2 separate regions of the Homo sapiens genome follow, and region 1 is linked to region 2. Evidence: promoter capture Hi-C in 16 types of primary human blood cells and fetal thymus (Javierre and others, 2016). All regions are on one chromosome and are shown on one strand. Each heading gives the region's core, a stretch centred on a gene start or on the middle of the fragment in contact. The rest is flanking DNA. Distances are from core to core; before and after follow the strand shown.

Region 1 (4,748 bases), core at 1,546-4,045, 480 kb before region 2:
CAATTGCTTCCCTTCTCCTAACCTATACCTCTGGTGAATAGGTGGAAGGAGGCACATTTTGGGGAGGGTTAATTTCATCAACTAGGTCCTATGCAGATTTGGTAAGACTTCTCAGGACTGTAATGAAAGAGTTATGGCTGTGGGTTTGGCAAATGTCAAGTTTTGCCAGGTACCTTAAAGTAGCACTCTCAGCTGCAATGTGCATGCAAATCGCCTGGAGGTCCATGAAAATGCAGATTCTGATTCAACAAGTCTAGGGTGGGGCCTGAGGGCCTGCCTTTCTAACAAATTCCCAGGTGATGCTGATGCTGCAGGTCCATAGGCCACTCCGAATAACCAGGAGGCTCGAGGCTTTAGAGTCGTGGTTCTCACAGTCTGATTGGTCTCACCAACGAGCATCACCAAGAACTGGTTAGAAATGCAGATTCTCAAGCCCCACCCAAATCTCCTAGATCGGACTTCCTGAGGGTGGGGCTCAGCAATCTGTTTCAGTAAGCCCTCCAGGGGATGCTGATGTATACTAATATTTCAGAAGCACTGACTTTATACAGATGCTGTATATTTGCAAGTCATCACTCTTGCTCATTGATCTTAGCATCCTCTCAGATTATTGGTCAGAGCGATCTTTGCTCACTTAACCATTGTGAAAATCTGTCATCTGGTTGTCTTTAGACCTATCAGTAGTGTCTTTAGAGGTTATAGAAATAAATTGTCTATTGAGTATGGCAGTCCTCCTCATCTATGGCTTCAGTTACCTGTGGTCAACTGTGGAATGAAAATATTTAATGAAAAATTCCAGAAATAAAAAATTCATACTTTTTAAATGGCATGCTGTTCTGAATAACTTGAGGAAATCTCATGCCATCCCACTCCATCCTGCTCAGGATGTGAATCATCCCCTCGTCTAGCGTATGCATGCTGTAGACACAACCTACTTGATAGTCACTGAGTAGATGACTTGGGGTTAGCAGGTCAACTGTCATGGGATCGCAATGCTTGTGTTCAAGGAAACCTTATTTAGTTTAATAATGGCCCCAAAGCACATGGGTAGTGATGCTGGCATATTATTATAATTATTACATTTTATTATTATTATTGTTAATGTCTTACTGTGCCTAATTTATAAATTAATCAAAGGTATGTATGTAAAGGAAAATACCACAGTATATGGAGTGTTCAGTACTATCTGTGGTTTCAGGCATCTACTGGGCACCTTGGAATGTATCCCCTGAGGATGAGGGAGGACTATTGTAAAGGTCTGTGTTTACAGACATTCTAGAAAAAGCTTTTTTGGTCCTAGAGTATACTGGGCTAGGGTTGTGGGGAGGTACAGAAGAAGGAGAAGAGTCTCCCTCCATGAAAGCCACCTCTGACAGGTATAAGGACTTGCTAAAAGATTGCCGGGCCACACCTACAGACTTTTTGATTCAGTCGATCTGACATGGGGACTGAGAGTTTGACTTTTAATAAATTCCCAGGTGATAGTACTGCTGCTGGCCCAGGGACCATTTTTAAGACCCACTTCTTTACGGCATTCATTCCCAAGAGGCCATCTTCTTCCAGTCTCCTGCCCCTCTTGTAGGAGGGCTGTGGGGGATGAGTGTGGGGAGCAGGTAGAGGCAGGGGGACCCTCCGTCAGAGGTGTATGTCTGCAGAAGCAAACCCATGCCAGGGCCAGACTTTAACCATCTGCTATACAAGTTAAATGTATATAATAAAGATGCCCACACCCCTCTCCAGACCAATTACATCAGATGGGGACTGGGCACGTTCAGAGTGAGAGTTAGGTGGTCCTGATGTGCAGATGGGTTGAGAATCCCTGCTCTCCTGCTGAATGCTATCCAAGGCGGGGTGTGTATGTGTGGTGGGGGGAGCTGGGATCTCTATTAGCCTTTCTCCAGGGCCTAGACTTCAGTGAGAACTTTCTGTGTAGGGCAGATGTGGGATTCGGACACTGATGGTATAAAAGCCAAGAGAAAAAGTGATGGGAGTGTCCCTGGATTGCCCTAATGTTATCTGCTCATCCCTCTGAAAATATTTATTTGGCTTTTATGTGAAAGCAGAATAAAATGCCACATCAAAATAGTCATGTCTAAGGGCTTTTTAAACCATTTTGGATTTTAAAAAGAAACTGCAGTACCCAGCGTCACGCATTGCTAAGTGTTGTAGAGTAGAAGGTCACTAGTGTGATACCTGTGCCTTCTTGATAAAAATGGGAATTATTACAAAGTACTTGAGCTTTGGGGCTATGTCAAGAAACTCAATTTAGGGACTCACAAGGATTCAGTTGTCTAAAATATAGAGCTGTTGTGTGTAGTTATAATGTTTAATATGGAATAGATATTTCATATCTATATTTGGAAAACACATAATAGGGAAATAACTGCCCTATAATTGTATGAGAAGAATAAAAACAGTTCCTTTAGAATTCTTATTGTTTTCTCTATTCTTTTTCAGGCTAAGACAATGCATAGCTTTTGGTTGATACAGGTAACCCTGGTTACCACTAAAGGGTGATCCCCTTCAGATAATAAACCCATTTAACTCCAGTCTCACTCCCTTCACCAGGAGGGCAGCTCACAGTCAGCTTGGTGGTGATGGGGGTTTTGCTGCCAGATGGGTTTCCTTCAAAGGAGACTGTGATGTTGTTGATCTTCTTGGGCCGCACAGACTCTCCAGCGCGAATGGTGAAGGCTGGGTTATCCACGATGATGGAGAAGGTCACCATGTGATAGAAGACATTCTTGAAGGGGATGATTATGCTGTACCCGGCTCGGATCGAGAAGGGACCTTGGGGCTTGGGAGGCAGAGCCATTCCAAAGAGGGGGATGATATACTCTCCACCTGCGAGCGATGATAGGATCAGGATGCCCTTGGTCTCACCCAGGTGGCTGGGCTCGAATAAGACTTCCACACTGGCTTCAGTGCCTCCCTGGCCTCCTGGGGCTGCATTAATGAGTTTTTCTGCGTGGAAGTCTGTACAGTCGGTCTGAAAGGGGAACAAACAAACTCAGCTCACGTGAGATCCTGAAGAGCACACCAGGAGCTCAAGTCTACCCCAGCCCCTCCACTCCTGGACATCAAGCAACTATGTCTGTGTGAGACTGGGAATGTTATAAAGTTGTGTCCTTATAACTCCCTTGTAGGGTAGGTATTACTAATTATTATTTCTATTTTGCTACAAAGAAACAAAGGCAAAGAGATGTTAATAATGTGTACTGAGACACACAGCCACATTACGTTAATAGGGCAGTCATGGATGCTGATCCCCTATATTCGGTTCTTTCCTTCCATGTACATGGAAGACCAAACATTCTGGTTCCTTGCAGATGGGTGGTGCTAGTTCCAGACAACTAGCTGTGAGCAGAAGTGAAAGGTGTCACTTCCATGCTAGAGCCTTTCATTGCCAATTTAACTCCTGTCAGGGTCCTTTCACCACTCTAATACTGTACTGGAAATATTTGAGATGGTGCTTGAATCCCAAGAGACTGAGATGAGCAGGGTCCCCTGCTGGCCTCTCTGGAAAATTGCTCAAATGAGAAACAAGCCTTCATCTTAAGCCCCTGTGATTGCTACTGCACCTAACCTAGCATCTCTTGGCTGATACAACTGATCAAGAGCCTCTGCCTCTTGGCTACAGCCACAAGATCTCTGATTTTACCTGGGCATGTGACTGCCCAGTACAAAAGCTACCTTTCCTAGCTCCTTTGTTGATAGGTGTGGTCCTGTGAAGTTTTGTTCCATGGAATATTAGTAGAGGTGATATATACAACTGTCCCCTCTTCCCTTGTAGCTGGCTGGAATGTGGATGTCCTGATAAACCATCTTGGCCCACGTGGACCAAAACAGCTCCCTTCAGAGGGCAGAGCATCGGGACAGAAGATGTCTGGGTGCCTGGTGTCAGCGAGCTGCCATTCCAGCTCAAACTGCTTATGCCCAGACTGTTATTTGTGAGAGAAACCAACACCTAATTTGCTGTTATTTGTGGTTTCTGTTTTTTAGAATTTTATTTTATGTTTTTAAATAGAGATGAGGTCTCGCTATGTTGCCCAGGCTGGTCTTCAACTCCTGGCTATAGCGATCTTCCCACCTGAGCCTCCCAAAGTGCTAGGATTGCAGATGTGAACCACTGTGTCTAGCTTTGGGTTTCTGTTTTAGTAGTTGAACCTATATTCCAACTGATGTAACAGCTAATGTATATGGAGCACTTACTATAGGCTAGGCTCTAAGAAAATGGCTTTAGATACATATTTAAAATCCTTATAGCAATCCTGCAAGGTTGGGGGTATTATCCCCATTTATAAATAAGCTTAGAGAGCTTAAGCAAATTATTCATACAAAGAGTAAGTGGTGAAGCCAGGACTCAAACCCATGTCTGTTTGATTCCACAGCCGATACCATGACTACTAAGCTATACTGTCTCCCTCTGTGGATCACTGGGCGTGCTGTGTGAAACAAAACTCCCCTACACTCCATCACAGCTTGTTAAGACAGAAAGTCTGTAATGGAAGAACCCAGGCCTGGTGCTGTTTGTTTCTAGCTGGGAGTTTCCAGGCTAGATTCAGGCCTCTGAGGCAGGTGTCACCATGACAACGAAGCACCTGAGTCTCTCTGAGTCTCACATTCATGCTCCCTGTGTCTCCTCTCATTGTTTTTGAACCCAGCGTTCATGTGAGGGAAGGGCAGAAGGTAGAGCAGGGGCCACTCACCCTGCAGTAGTATTCTGTCCTCTGCCGTGTGTAATTGAT
Region 2 (4,579 bases), core at 1,724-4,223:
TAACATGTGACTTTTCGTTTTTTTTTTTTTTAGTTCCCGTCATACTTTACCTCCTTCAGGGAGAGGATCATGTACCTGAACCCAGTACTGATCCTGCCACAAGCCACTTACCTCACTAGTAGGATTGTTGAATACATCCTCTGTCCAGATTTCATTCTCTAAGACAGGCACTTTGGTGGTACCAATCACCTATACAGGTCATCAACTAACGTTCATCATCATACTGCTTGTAAACTGTGCTGTACTTGAGTGGTTAGCCTTTTTCTGCTTGATGCTGAAAGTGACCAACTGTTTACCCGGTATGTCTCAAACTATAGATTCCTGGCTTTCATATGGTTCAGACAGCTCCACACTTCCACCATAACATATCATTATTTCTTCTAGCCACTAAAACTTAACACTTGGATAGCAGAATTTTATACTGAAGAAATATACATATTGAATATACAAATTACAAATAGTCACTCTACATACTCTGGCAGTCAACACTGCCAAAGAAACCAGAAACAAAGAAACCTCTTCCTTCTGAAGAGGAAAAAGGATATGAGAAGTATGGCTTAATGGCATAGTTTTGGAAAAGTTACAAATTCCAGCAGGGAGAGCAATGAATATTACATGGTACCTGTTAGTGCAATGTTAATCAATAGATGCTTTAGTTCACAAATTCTGCACTTATTTAGCATACACAATGCATTCTACAAATGATTTTCAAAAAAATCTGAATTTGTTAAATATGAAAAAATTGGCAATCAAATCATCACTCCAGAAAAGCAGATGTTCAAGGACAAAATGAGAAACAAAGGGAACTACTGCTGTAATACATACAATAATATTCAGATGATGTTTCTTTTAGCATTTACTTTGTACTGTTCTTTTAGCACACTTTTTTCATTCTTTCTTATTTTGTTTAAATTATTTGCAAGTCTACTCTACCAGTTTGTAATTTCCTTGAAGTAACAGGTGTCTTCTTAGTCATTTGTTTGCCACGGTATATTTATATTAAAAAAAAGTTTTTTTTTGAGACAGGGTCTCACTCTGCTACCCAGGCTGGAGTGCAGTGGCACAGGTCATAGCTCCCTGCAGCCTTGACCTCTTCCCAGGCTCAAAGGATCCTCCCACCTCAGCCTCCAAAGGAGTTGGGACTACAGACGTGCACCACCACACCCAGTTAGTTAAAAAAAAAATTGTGGAGATGGGGTCTTGCTCTGTTGCCCAGGCTGGTCTCAAAATCCTGGGCTCAAGCAATCCCTCCAACTCGGCCTTCCAAGGTGCTGGGATTACAGGTGTCAGCCACTATGCCTGTTTTTTGTTTGTTTCTTTTTTACTGGTAGAGCTATATTTAGACAAATTTCTAAAGGAAGACAAAACTGAGGTGTTTCCACATTCACTAAAATCTTAAAATAAGGGCATATAAAAGTTTTTTTCAACAAGCTCCTCTGTCTTAATTCGCATTGTGCTTGCTGGAAACTACAGCCATGTTTAGATCTCATCTATACTCTATTTCGGAAAAAGTCTAATTTTAATCATTAACTTCACATACTAATTAACGGCTGTAGTTAAGCTGTGAAACCTTACCTAAGCTAATAGGAAATTACCTTCACATGAGGACAACTTAAGTGATTCAGACACTCCACCGTTCTGACTATACTTTTGCTGTGTTGCCACCTAATTTTTATTACTACTCCCTTACTCACTACTCCAGCCAAACAGGCCTTTCTGCTGTTCACTGAAGACACCAAGCACATTCCAAGACAAAAGTCTTTCTGCATTGGTGGTCCCTCTGCCTGGAATGCTCTTTCCCCAGCTGTCAGCACAGCTAACTCCTTCACCTCCTTCCAATATTTGCTCAAATGTCATTTTCTCAGTGAAGCCTACCTAAGATTGCATCTTGCATTCCCCATGCCTCTTACCTCGCTGTATTTTTTTCCTATGGTACTCATGTACTTCCAACCTATAACTTCCTTCTTTTTGTTTACTGTTTATTATTTGTCTTCCCCAAACTAGAATGTAAGCTCCACAGGACAGAGATCTTTGTTTTGTTTACACATAGACCATTCCAAGAAGTTGGACATTGCCTGGTACACAGTAAGCACTCAGTATTACTGAATAAATGAGTGGATATCATACTTAGCACAAAAGGGATCTCTCTCTTCAGGTTCTGAATATGAGTCATTAATAGTGCACCTCAACTTCACTCCAGCACTTAAATGCATGACTTAAAAAAAAAAAAAAAAGCATGTGGCTTACAGCGTGTGTGGAAAAATTTTCCAGTATATGATCCTCTGAGCCTTTCATTAAACAGTCCTTTGAGCTTTGTGACATCATAATTCTGCTAAGTGGGTCGCTATTACCATTCTCATATTGCAAACTCAAGTAGGCAGTTATGTAGCCCCCGCCCAAATTAGTGAACCCAAAACAAAACCCACAAGATCTCATCAACAGTTTTTACCTCACAGCTGACACTTATAAAGGAGTTCCAAGTGCTTCCGCCAACTCCTCCTACCAGCAACTGTGAAAACAACGGCCAGTGAGTATCCAGGGCTGACTTTGGGCCGGGCACCCCATATCTCATTTCATCTAGTGAAGTAAGTCCCAAACCCCACTCCAGAGGCCCGGTCCCTGACCTGGAGGAAACTCAGTCCCAGCCCCTGGCTCACCCGCTGGGAAGTCGAAGGAGGGCCCGGAATCGTACCCAGGCCTGGATTACCTTCGCCCACGCCCACTGGGGCCCCAGTGTCTGGAGAGGCTGCACTTTACTCTCTCGAGGAAGCCATTCTGCACTTCCGCTCTCGGGGCTGCTTCCCGGGATGGTCCCTCCCTTTGGGTCCGCGGCGCCTCCAGCCACAAGGCAGGGAGATGGTGCGCCGGACTGGGGGGAAGGCTGTCCGGACCCGCCCTCGCGGCACCGGGAAGCCAGTCCCACCTCCGGGCCCCGCAGCCGCGAATGCCGGCAGACAGGGACCAGGAGGCACTCAAGTCCCACTGCGCACGCGCCCTGTAGGCCGGGCCGGAGTCACGTGCGCCAACGTTACGCACGCCGGCGACTCTCGCCTCGCCTAGGCCTCAGCTCCCTAGGTTTTGCTTCGCGGAGTACAGAAGCTGGGAGGCGCCAGCCTCCCGCCCCCGGCCACTATGGCAACGGAAGCGGCGCGCGCAGGCGGAGCATTCTTTGGCTCCGTCCCGAAGAGGGGTGAAAGGGAGAGGGACAGGGAGGCGAAGGGGAGGGGGAGGGGGAGGGAGGGAAGGGACGGGGCAAACCTGTCTGTCAGGACGTGCTGGTTCCGCTCACTGGCTGCTGGCCCCAAGGGCTTTCAGACTCTTCTGGACAGTTGTTACTTCCTGTACAGACTGGGTTGAAACTGCAGCTCAAAAGACGATAGGTTAAAAGCCAAACTAGGGAACTGCAAGATAAGATTGTTTATATATACATGACATAATATATATTAATTATGTTGCTTAATAAGCCAATAAGAAAAAGGCCAACAACCCCAGAAGGAAAATGAGCAAATATTAGAACAGGCCTCCCAAAAAACAAAAAAGTCAAACAAATAGCCACTAAGGATATACAAAACTGTTTAAACTATTATTAGACAAGAATGGAAATGAAAACAGCAAGTTTTCTTTTTACTCGGTTTAGCAAAGATGTAAAACCTTGGTAATGACCACTGTTGGTGTGACTATGGGGAAACAGGTTTACATCTGTGGATGGAAGAAAAACGTTATTAGAAACCTTACGGAAGGCAAACTTATTTATTTGTTTGTTTACTGAAACAAGGTCTTACCCTCACCCAGGCTGGTGTGCAGTGGCTCGATCTCGGCTCACTGCAGCCTCAACTTCCCCGGGCTCACGCGATCCTCCTAGAGAGATGGCATCTCCCTATCTTAGGCTGGTCTGGAACTCCTGGACTCAAGCGATCCGTTGGTCTCGGCCACCCAAAGTGCTGGGATTACAGGCATGAGCCAAGCCGCCTAGCCCAGAAGGCAAACGTTGAAAAGAGACATGCACTTTGGCTGGGCGCAGTGGCTCACGCCTGTAATCCCAGCATTTTGAGAGGCCGAGGCGAGCGGATCACGAGGTCAAGAGTCCGAGACCAGCCTGACCAACATAGTGAAACCCCGTCTCTACTAATAATGCAAAAAATTAGCCAGGCGTGGTGGCGGGCGCCTGTAATCCTAGCTACTTGGGAGGCTGAGGCAGGAGAATCGCTTGAACCCGGGAGGCGGAGGTTGGAGCGAGCCGAGATCTCACCACTGCACACCAGCCCGGGCGACAGTGCGAGACTCCGTCTCGGGAAAAAAAGAGGACATGCATTTTAACCCAGCAATTCCTCCTCCTCGCAGTTTATCCTTAGGAGATAATTAAACAGCTGGCACTCACTTTGGACAAAATGTTCATTTCAGCATCTCAATAACATAGCCAAATGGAAATACTCTAAATGTCTACTTTAAGAGAATTAATTAAATTATTACAGTACATCTATATAATGCACATATATGCATTATATGCAGCCATTAATAGGCTGTATGTGTCAACAGTATTGCATGAAAATAGAAGAATATTAGAATTATGTGTAGAGTT

What was found. Contacts are between HindIII fragments. The CHiCAGO score rates a contact against its expected background, and 5 or more counts as called.
Region 1: a fragment that was not itself captured here is called in contact with the fragment with the promoter of CMTR2 in region 2 in 2 of 17 cell types (M1 macrophages and M0 macrophages); the score reaches 5.8 in M1 macrophages.

The regions. Positions count from the first base shown.
Region 1 is chr16:70,805,074-70,809,821 of GRCh38, forward strand. It overlaps HYDIN (HYDIN axonemal central pair apparatus protein), which reads right to left. Exons shown (of 86, transcript NM_001270974.2): 85 at 4,710-4,748; 86 at 1-2,989. The coding sequence ends at 2,507. Among named protein-coding and RNA genes, the nearest start is that of VAC14, 6.3 kb to the left of the region's middle. The HindIII fragment of the contact is 3,024 bases long and covers 1,284-4,307 here.
Region 2 is chr16:71,286,429-71,291,007 of GRCh38, forward strand. It overlaps CMTR2 (cap methyltransferase 2), which reads right to left and starts at 2,974. Exons shown (of 3, transcript NM_018348.6): 1 at 2,708-2,974; 2 at 2,450-2,509. It overlaps LOC102723786 (a long non-coding RNA gene), which reads left to right and starts at 2,372. Exons shown (of 4, transcript XR_933707.3): 1 at 2,372-2,527. RefSeq lists silencers at 2,727-3,096, 3,177-3,246. The HindIII fragment of the contact is 7,094 bases long and covers 1-4,579 here.